Regions from separate parts of the Homo sapiens genome. Here all the other regions are linked to region 1. Evidence: promoter capture Hi-C in human tissues and cell types (Jung and others, 2019). All regions are on one chromosome and are shown on one strand. The core of a region is centred on a gene start or on the middle of the fragment in contact, and the rest is flanking DNA. Distances in the headings are between cores, read along the strand shown.

What was found. Contacts are between HindIII fragments. The study calls those that stand out against the background at their distance.
Region 2: a contact is called between a fragment that was not itself captured here and the fragment with the promoter of ABHD16B in region 1, in 4 of the 25 tissues and cell types used here (H1 embryonic stem cells, dorsolateral prefrontal cortex, lymphoblastoid cells and 1 more).
Region 3: a fragment that was not itself captured here is called in contact with the fragment with the promoter of ABHD16B in region 1 in 1 of the 25 tissues and cell types used here (dorsolateral prefrontal cortex).

The regions. Positions count from the first base shown.
Region 1 is chr20:63,860,083-63,862,782 of GRCh38, reverse strand. ABHD16B (abhydrolase domain containing 16B) reads right to left here and starts at 1,285. Exons shown (of 1, transcript NM_080622.4): 1 at 1-1,285. The coding sequence starts at 1,242. It overlaps ABHD16B-AS1 (ABHD16B antisense RNA 1), which reads left to right. Exons shown (of 2, transcript NR_165314.1): 2 at 1-1,568. The HindIII fragment of the contact is 14,540 bases long and covers 1-2,700 here.
Region 2 is chr20:63,668,149-63,670,848 of GRCh38, reverse strand. All of the region lies in intron 8 of RTEL1 (regulator of telomere elongation helicase 1), which reads right to left. All of the region lies in intron 8 of RTEL1-TNFRSF6B (RTEL1-TNFRSF6B readthrough (NMD candidate)), which reads right to left. Among named protein-coding and RNA genes, the nearest start is that of RTEL1, 11 kb to the right of the region's middle. The HindIII fragment of the contact is 4,863 bases long and covers 1-2,700 here.
Region 3 is chr20:63,612,511-63,615,210 of GRCh38, reverse strand. All of the region lies in intron 2 of GMEB2 (glucocorticoid modulatory element binding protein 2), which reads left to right. Among named protein-coding and RNA genes, the nearest start is that of GMEB2, 13 kb to the left of the region's middle. RefSeq lists an enhancer at 1,083-1,252. The HindIII fragment of the contact is 4,726 bases long and covers 1-2,700 here.

The sequences.
Region 1 (2,700 bases), core at 36-2,535:
GGCCTCCTCGCCCTCCAGCTCCTCTTCGCAGCGTGCACGGTAGGAGCGCAGCAGCGCCAGGCACCAGTCCTCGTCCACGCGGTAGCGTGCATAGAAGGCGGCCTCCTGCGCCAAGCTGCCAGCGCGCAGCCAGCGGGTGACGACGGCGCGGCCCTCTCGCGCCATCACGACGGGGTAGCGGTGCTCCAGCAGGCGCAGCAGCAGCTCATTGCCCCGGTTGCCCTCCACGTCACCAGGTGACAGGGGGCGCAGGCGGCCCGAAGTGCTGACCACGTCATCCTGCGTGCGTCGGAGCAGCAGCACCGGCCCCGGGTAGCAGCACAGCTGCTCGGCCACGTTGAGGTTGAAGTGCTCGCGCACGGTGCGCACCACCAGCCCCTTCCAACTGTGGGGCATGACCTTCAGCGCCAGCGGCACAAGGTCGTCGAAGGTGGCGTCCAGCACCAGTGCACCCAGCTCCGGGTAGGTCATGGTGGCCCAGGTGGCCGTGAAGCCGCCAACAGACCAGCCGTAGACCACCAGGTGCGCGGGCGGGAAGTGCAGGCGGTGCAGTGCGTACTCGACCACCACGTCCATGGCGTTGGCGTCGTGCTGAGGGAAGGGCACGCCAGTGCTGCTGCCGAAGCCGGGGTGGTTCCAGCCCAGCACGGAGTAGCCGGCCTCGAGCGGTGCAGACAGACAGCCCATCTCGTAGAAGCCCGCGTTGCCTTCGCAGCAGATGACGAGGCGCGGCCCGTGCACGTGGCTGCCCGGGTGCTGGCGGCGGTCCATGAACATAGTGTCGATCTCGTTGCCGTCACAGGCCACCAGCTTGGCGCGCCGGCCGTGGTAGCGCTCCACGAGGCGCTCTTGGCCCTGCTGCAGCAGCGGCAGCAGCGCGCGCGTCATCAGGGACACGGAGCCGGGGTACACGAGCCAGCGGCCCAGCGAGTGGGCCAGCGCGTAGCTAGCGAGCTGGCCGGGCAGCTCGCGGAGCTGCTGCAAGAGGCACTGCGCCTGGCTGCGCGCCCCACGTGGAGGCCGCCCCAGCGCATCCCCGCCCAGCGTCTCGTCCCGCAGCAACCACACGCCCGCCGCGGCTGCCGCGCAGGTCAGCGCCCGGTGGCTGCTGCTCCGGCCCACGGCGCGCACGTCATCCCAGCGGAAGGCCACGGGCCAGCCGCGGAATGGGTAGGTGTAGCTGGCGGTCAGGTAGATCTTGAACACGCGCACCAGCGCCTTCACGAAGCAGATGACGCACATGAGCGGTGGCCCTAACGCCCAGCCGCTGGGCCGGGATCGCCGCGAGAGGCACAGGGCAGTCTTAGGGGATACCGGCTCCCGGACAAGCCCTGATGGCCTTTGTGACCTGGCCTTCCAGGGCGGAGGGAAGGCTGCATCCTGTTGCTAGGTGATGGGTGCACAAAGGGTTCCCAGAGATGATGAACCCAAGGTTCTGCCCGTCCCCCGCCTTCGCCAAGACCCCACCAGCTAAACGCTCCCAGGCCCAGCTTTCCCACCCATGATTTGAGCAGCTACTGTCTCCCTCTTTCTTCCTTATTTATTTATTAAATTGAGATGGGGTCTCACTATGCTGCCTAGGCTGGTCTTGAACCCCTGGGCTCAAGCGATCCTCCCGCCTCCACCTCCCACAGTGTTGGGATTACAGGTGTGAGTCCCTGCACCCCGCCTCCACCTCCCACAGTGTTGGGATTACAGGTGTGAGTCCCTGCACCCCGCCTCCCTCTTCCTTAAATTTAAGATGGACAGCCCCACGGGCCAAAAAGGGACAGCAAGGCCTCCTCCGCCTGTACCAGGCTTGCTGTGGGTCCTGCAAGTTTCCCTTCAGGGTCTGCTGGTTTAAACCTCATCTCCCCAGGACGGCCGGGGTCAGAGACAGGGCTGCTGCTGCACCAAAAAGGCGGTATTTGCTCTCGGCCCGGCCCCTCCTCTCCACACCTTCCTTCTTCGGTGCTGACCAGAAACAAGCCCTCTCCTTTTCTGGATCCTCTTTTCACTGGCTGCCAGCAACAGCAGTGACCTTCTGGGGCGGGTCCTGCCTGGCTGGGGTTCCTCTTTCTCGCTCCTGGGTCGAGCCCCCACTCCCAGGCTGCGCCTCCCTCTTTTCTGGAGAGGTATCTTTTCTCCTGCCCTGGAAAGGGCCAGCCCACCTGAGGGCAGGGTCGGAAGCCGCCTGCCAGGAGGAGCCCCAGGGAAGAGGGCAGCTCCAGGTACTCAACAGCTCCCCAGACCAGAAACAAACATGCTACAATCAGGGAGTTTGGCAAATCCAGCCAGAGCCTCTGAGCCCAGGTGCCAGGCCCGCCTGGGACCCCAGCCTTCTGGGGAAGGGGTAGTTTCAGGCTGAAGCACCCCCTCTCTGCTCTCCTGCTCAGCGTCTGGGTTAGAGGCACTGCCTGACCCTAACAGGCCCCGCCCCTAGTTGGGGGAGTCAGCTGCTGCCTTTAGGGGTTGGGGGACAGAAGACAGGGACCAATTAACAAAGGGAGCGATTTGGGGGGCTATTACCCCCATTCTAGGTTGCCAGATAAAATACAGAATAATATGCCAGTTAAATTGGAATTACAAATAAACAAATACTTTTTGGGTATAAGTATGTTCCAACTTCTGCTTGAGACATTATTTTAAAATTGTTTATCTGAAATTCAAATTTAACTGGATATCCTGTTTTTTCTGTTTGTTTGTTTGTTTGTTTTTGAG
Region 2 (2,700 bases), core at 14-2,513, 190 kb after region 1:
AAGTCTTTTCTTTTTTCTTTTTTTTTTTTTTTGAGATGGGGTCTCCCTATGTTGCCTAGGCTGGTCTCAAACTCCTGGGCTTAAGCGATCCCCCAGCCTTGGCCCCTAAAGTTCTGGGATTACAGGCGTGAGCCACTGAGCCTGGCCACATATGAATCTTTGAACACGTCTTCCCTTCTCCCGGCTCGGCTGTTTGCCACACGTTTGTGGAGTGGCTACACAACTTCACAGCGATGGATGAGATCCAGCTGTTCCACATCCTCATGCCACACTCAGGGCTTCTGAATTTCAGCCATGCCAGTGGGACCACAGTGTCGGCTCCCCGTGGCTTTAATCTGCCTTCTCCTATGACTGGAGATGCTGGGCGACTTTCCATGTGCTCAACTGGTCATTCCATCCACCTTGGTGAAACGTCTGTCCGGATGCTCTCCCAGTGGTTAACTGGCCATTCCACCCATCTTGGCGAAACGTCTGTCCGGATGCTCTCCCAGTGGTTAACTGGCCATTCCACCCATCTTGGCGAAACGTCTGTCCGGATGCTCTCCCAGTGGTTAACTGGCCATTCCACCCATCTTGGCGAAACGTCTGTCCGGATGCTCTCCCAGTGGTTAACTGGCCATTCCACCCATCTTGGCGAAACGTCTGTCCGGATGCTCTCCCAGTGGTTAACTGGCCATTCCACCCATCTTGGCGAAACGTCTGTCCGGATGCTCTCCCAGTGGTTAACTGGCCATTCCACCCATCTTGGCGAAACGTCTGTCCGGATGCTCTCCCAGTGGTTAACTGGCCATTCCACCCATCTTGGCGAAACGTCTGTCCGGATGCTCTCCCAGTGGTTAACTGGCCATTCCACCCATCTTGGCGAAACGTCTGTCCGGATGCTCTCCCAGTGGTTAACTGGCCATTCCACCCATCTTGGCGAAACGTCTGTCCGGATGCTCTCCCAGTGGTTAACTGGCCATTCCACCCATCTTGGCGAAACGTCTGTCCGGATGCTCTCCCAGTGGTTAACTGGCCATTCCACCCATCTTGGCGAAACGTCTGTCCGGATGCTCTCCCAGTGGTTAACTGGCCATTCCACCCATCTTGGCGAAACGTCTGTCCGGATGCTCTCCCAGTGGTTAACTGGCCATTCCACCCATCTTGGCGAAACGTCTGTCCGGATGCTCTCCCAGTGGTTAACTGGCCATTCCACCCATCTTGGTGAAACGTCTGTCCAGATCCCTTCCCAGTGGTTAAGTGGGTTGTTTGCTTAGTTATGGGAGAATTTTACATACTCTGGTCAAAGGTCCTTTCAAATCAGAGGAGGGCTGAAAAAATTTTTTAAGTCCTTTGAAAGAAGTATTTTCTCCCTTTCTTTAACTGCTTTTTCATTTTCTCAACTCTTCCACAGAGTTGAAGCTTTAAATTTTGGTGAAGTCTAAATTTTAATGTTTTTCTTCATGGCTAGTGCCTTGTGTATCCATACTAAGAAATCTCTGCCTACCCCAAAGTTGCAAAGACCTCCCCCATGTTCCTTTCTATAACTTTTAGTTTAGCTTTTACATTTAGGTTTATACAGGGTAAAACAAGAGTTAAGATTCACTGTTTTCCGAACAGATATCCAGCTGTTCTTAGCACCATTTTTTCAGAAAACCAGAAATCAACCTTCATTTCCTCTCTCAATTAAATTGGCATGTTTGTCAAAAAACAATCACCAAGGGCCAGGCATGGTGGCGCACGCCTGTAATCCCAGCTACTCGGGAGGCTGATGTGGGAGAATCGCTAGAACCTAGGGGCGGGGGCTGCAGTGAGCCGAGATGGTGCCACTGCACTCCAACCTGGGTGACAGAGTGAGATTCCAACTGAAAAAAAAAACAATGACCACATGCGTGTGGGTCAGCTTGAGCTTGCTGCCTTCTCCATGGCCTGCAGGCCTGTGCCTGAGCTGGGCCATCTCCACCTCCACTCCTGCAGCTTTAGAGGAGTCTTGAAACCAGCGAGGTGAGTCCTCCAGCTCTGTTCTTCTTCACGGTCATCTTGCTGTTTTAGATCTTCTGCGTTTCCGTGAAAGTGTTAGACTCGGCTTACCAGCTGTGATATAACTGTCCCAGGGAGGGGCCTGGTTGGGTTAGAAGCTCTCCAGATGGTTCCCAGGGGCAGCCAGGGCTCAAAGCACCGAGTCACCCACAACCACGGCAAACCTCACCAGCTCTCTGTGGGGTTCTGCTACAGCTTCCCAGGAGTCGGCCCCCCAGCCGCCCCCACTCACCTCTTCCCTTGCTCTGCTGCACCTGCTGAGGCTCCCCTCAGACCCACCAGCATTCCCCACCTCCCGCCGACATCGCACTTGGGCCCGCTTGGCTCGGTCTCCGCCTCCTCCCTCTGCTCTATTTCCCTTCAGTATCATCAGCTCACGTGCTTACTCTTTTGCTGTCCACCTGTCCCCACCACTAGAATCAAAGCTCCATGTGAGTGAAGCCAGTCTTGCTATGCCTGGAATAGCACCCAGCATGATGAGCTCTCAATAAATATACACCCCGAGAATGAGCGAACCAACGACGGGATCTGGAAACGTCACCACGCCATCGTCACGTGAACACACAAACCATTGACCCGTGGCGTGTGATCCCACCTGCACTAAGTAAAAAGTGTGGGGCACAAAAGCAGGGCACATGGGGAGGAGGGCAGCAGGGCCGGGCACACACTGGGAGGAGGGGA
Region 3 (2,700 bases), core at 48-2,547, 250 kb after region 1:
TGAACTGGCTCAACGAGGAGACTGGGCCAGATGTCCTGCAGGTGCCTTGCTGGGTTTGGAGGATCGCAATTCACTACAGCAGCTGAGTCGTGCCTAGGCTCCAGTCTACAAAGCCAGGGTGTAGGGACCAGCCCCACAGGGTTGGTGGGTTTTCTCCTCGTATGCGGAGATGAGAGAGTGTAGAAATAAAGACACAAGACAAAGATAAAAGAAAAAGACAGCTGGGCCTGGGGGACCACTACCACCAAGACGCGGAGACTGGTAGCGGCCCCGAATGCCAGGTTGCGCTATTTATTGGATACAAGACAAAGCGGCAGGGTAAGGAGTGTGAACCATGTCCAGTGATAGGTAAGGTCATGTGGGTCACGTGCCCACTGGCCAGGGGGCCCTTCCCTTCCTGGCAGCTGAGGCAGAGAGAGAGGAGAGAGAGAGAGAGACCGCTTACGCCATTATTTCTGCTTATCAGAGACTTTCAGTACTTTCACTAATTTGCTGCTGCTATCTAGAAGGCAGAGCCAGGTGCACAGGATGGAACATGAAGGCGGACTAGGAGCGTGACCACTGAAGCACAGCATCACAGGGAGACGGTTAGGCCTCCGGATAACTGCGGGCGGGCCTGACTGATGTCAGGCCCTCCGCAAGAGGTGGAGGAGTAGAGTCTTCTCTAAACTCCCCCGGGGAAAGGGAGACTCTCTTTCCTGGTTTGCTAAGTAGCGGGTGTTTTTCCTTGACACTGAGGCTACCGCTAGACCACGGTCCACTTGGCAACGGGCGTCTTCCCAGATGCTGGCGTTACCGCTAGACCAAGGAGCCCTCTGGTGGCCCTGTCCAGGCATAACAGAAGGCTCGCACTCTTGTCTTCTGGTCAGTTCTCACTATGTCCCCTCAGCTCCTATCTCTGTATGGCCTAGTTTTTCCTAGGTTATGATTTCCTAGTTTTTCCTAGGTTATGCTTAGGCAAGGATTATTATAATATTGGAATAAAGAGTAATTGCTACAAACTAATGATGAATGATATTCATATATAATCATATTTATGATCTATATCTAGTATAACTATTCTTATTTTATGCATTTTATTACACCGGAACAGCTCGTGCCCTCGGTCTCTTGCCTCGGCACCTAGGTGGCTTGCCGCCCATACCAGGGTCCATCTGATGGAGTGGGTGTTGCCCAGTCTGACAAATGCAGGGCGGCCTTCACATCCTAGGGGGTCTCTTTACCCTGCCCTGCTCTGCACTCTTCCCTCCCCCTCCTGTCCAGACCACCCACATGCTAGACTCTCACACCCAAGAGAAGTCTCACGAACATGTCGCAGGAGCATCAAGGACACTGGAGTTACCCATTTGAAATGTGGAGAGTTCAACATTAAGTACATTTTTATTGATAAACAAAAATGGGCCAGGCGCAGTGGCTCACACCTGTAATCCCAGCACTTTGGGAGGCCAGGGTGGGTGGATCACTTGTCAGGAATTTGAGACCAGTCTGGCCAACATGGTGAAACCCCGTCTCTACTAAAAGTACAAAAATTAGCCAGGCGTGGTGGCGGGCGCCTGTAATCCAGTTGGGAGGCTGCAGCAGGAGAATTGCTTGAACCAGGGAGATGGAGGTTACAGTGAGCCGAGATTGTGCCACTGCACTCCAGCCTGGGTGACAGAGCGAGACTCAGTCTCAAAAAAAAAAAAAAAAGAAAACAAAAATGTTGTAGTAATAAAATCCTGCACAGTTGTCTTCGTACACAGTTGTGGCTTAGAGCTCTCCTCTGTGGGTGTCTTGCCGGCTGGTGGCAGTGACGGACCAGGGCAGTGGCAGACACAGGCGCACGGCTGGCGCAGTGCCCTGGAGGCTGGTGTCCCACTTGCTGTCTTGGTTTCCTGTGGTCACTGTGGAAGGTGGCTCCTGTAGGTTAGCTTTGCTTTATGAACACTGAGTAGGAGCTTTTTTTCTAGGATGTTAAAAGAATTTGCTCACATCTTATGCTTGAGTTAACTCTTTGAAGAACAGTGAGAAGTAGAGAGGAAATAATTGCCAAGTTCTCTTGCTTGCTCTGTTTATGATTGTGTCAGTTTTCTTTTGCTGTTTAAGAAAACACCCAATGGCAGGCACCTGTAGTCCCAGTTACTCAGGAGGCTGAGGCAGGGGAATGGCGTGAATCCGGGGGGCAGAGCTTGCAGTGAGCCAAGATTGCGCCACTGCACTCCAGCCTGGGCAACAGAGTGAGACTGCGTCTCCGAAAAAAAAAAAGAAAAAGAAAGAAAGAAACCATCCAAAACTTAGTGGCTTAAGACAAGACATAGTTGTTATTATTTTTAATTCTGTTGGTTGGTTCGTGGTTCTGCTGGTCTGGGCCGGCCTCACCAACCCCTGTCGTCAGCTGACAGCTTGGCAAGGACCTGCTGGTCTGGGTGGCCTTGGCCACAGGGGTCTCTGGAGGGAGGCAGTCTGAGGCACAGGTAGGCTCGGCTGGGTGGCTCTCCTCTGCTTTGCCCGGTCTGTGATCCTCCACCTGGAGGCCTGGACTTCTTTGCCCCGTAAGCCCACAGTTGCAGAGGAAAGTGGGCCTCCTGCTCACTTCTGTTGCCTTGATTGACGCAAGCGACATCACCAAGTGCTGGTTCAAGGGCAGAGCTAAGACTGCCTCTTGGTAGGAAGTTACAAAACGTTGAGATCATTTCTGTGGCCACAGAATGACATTTCCAT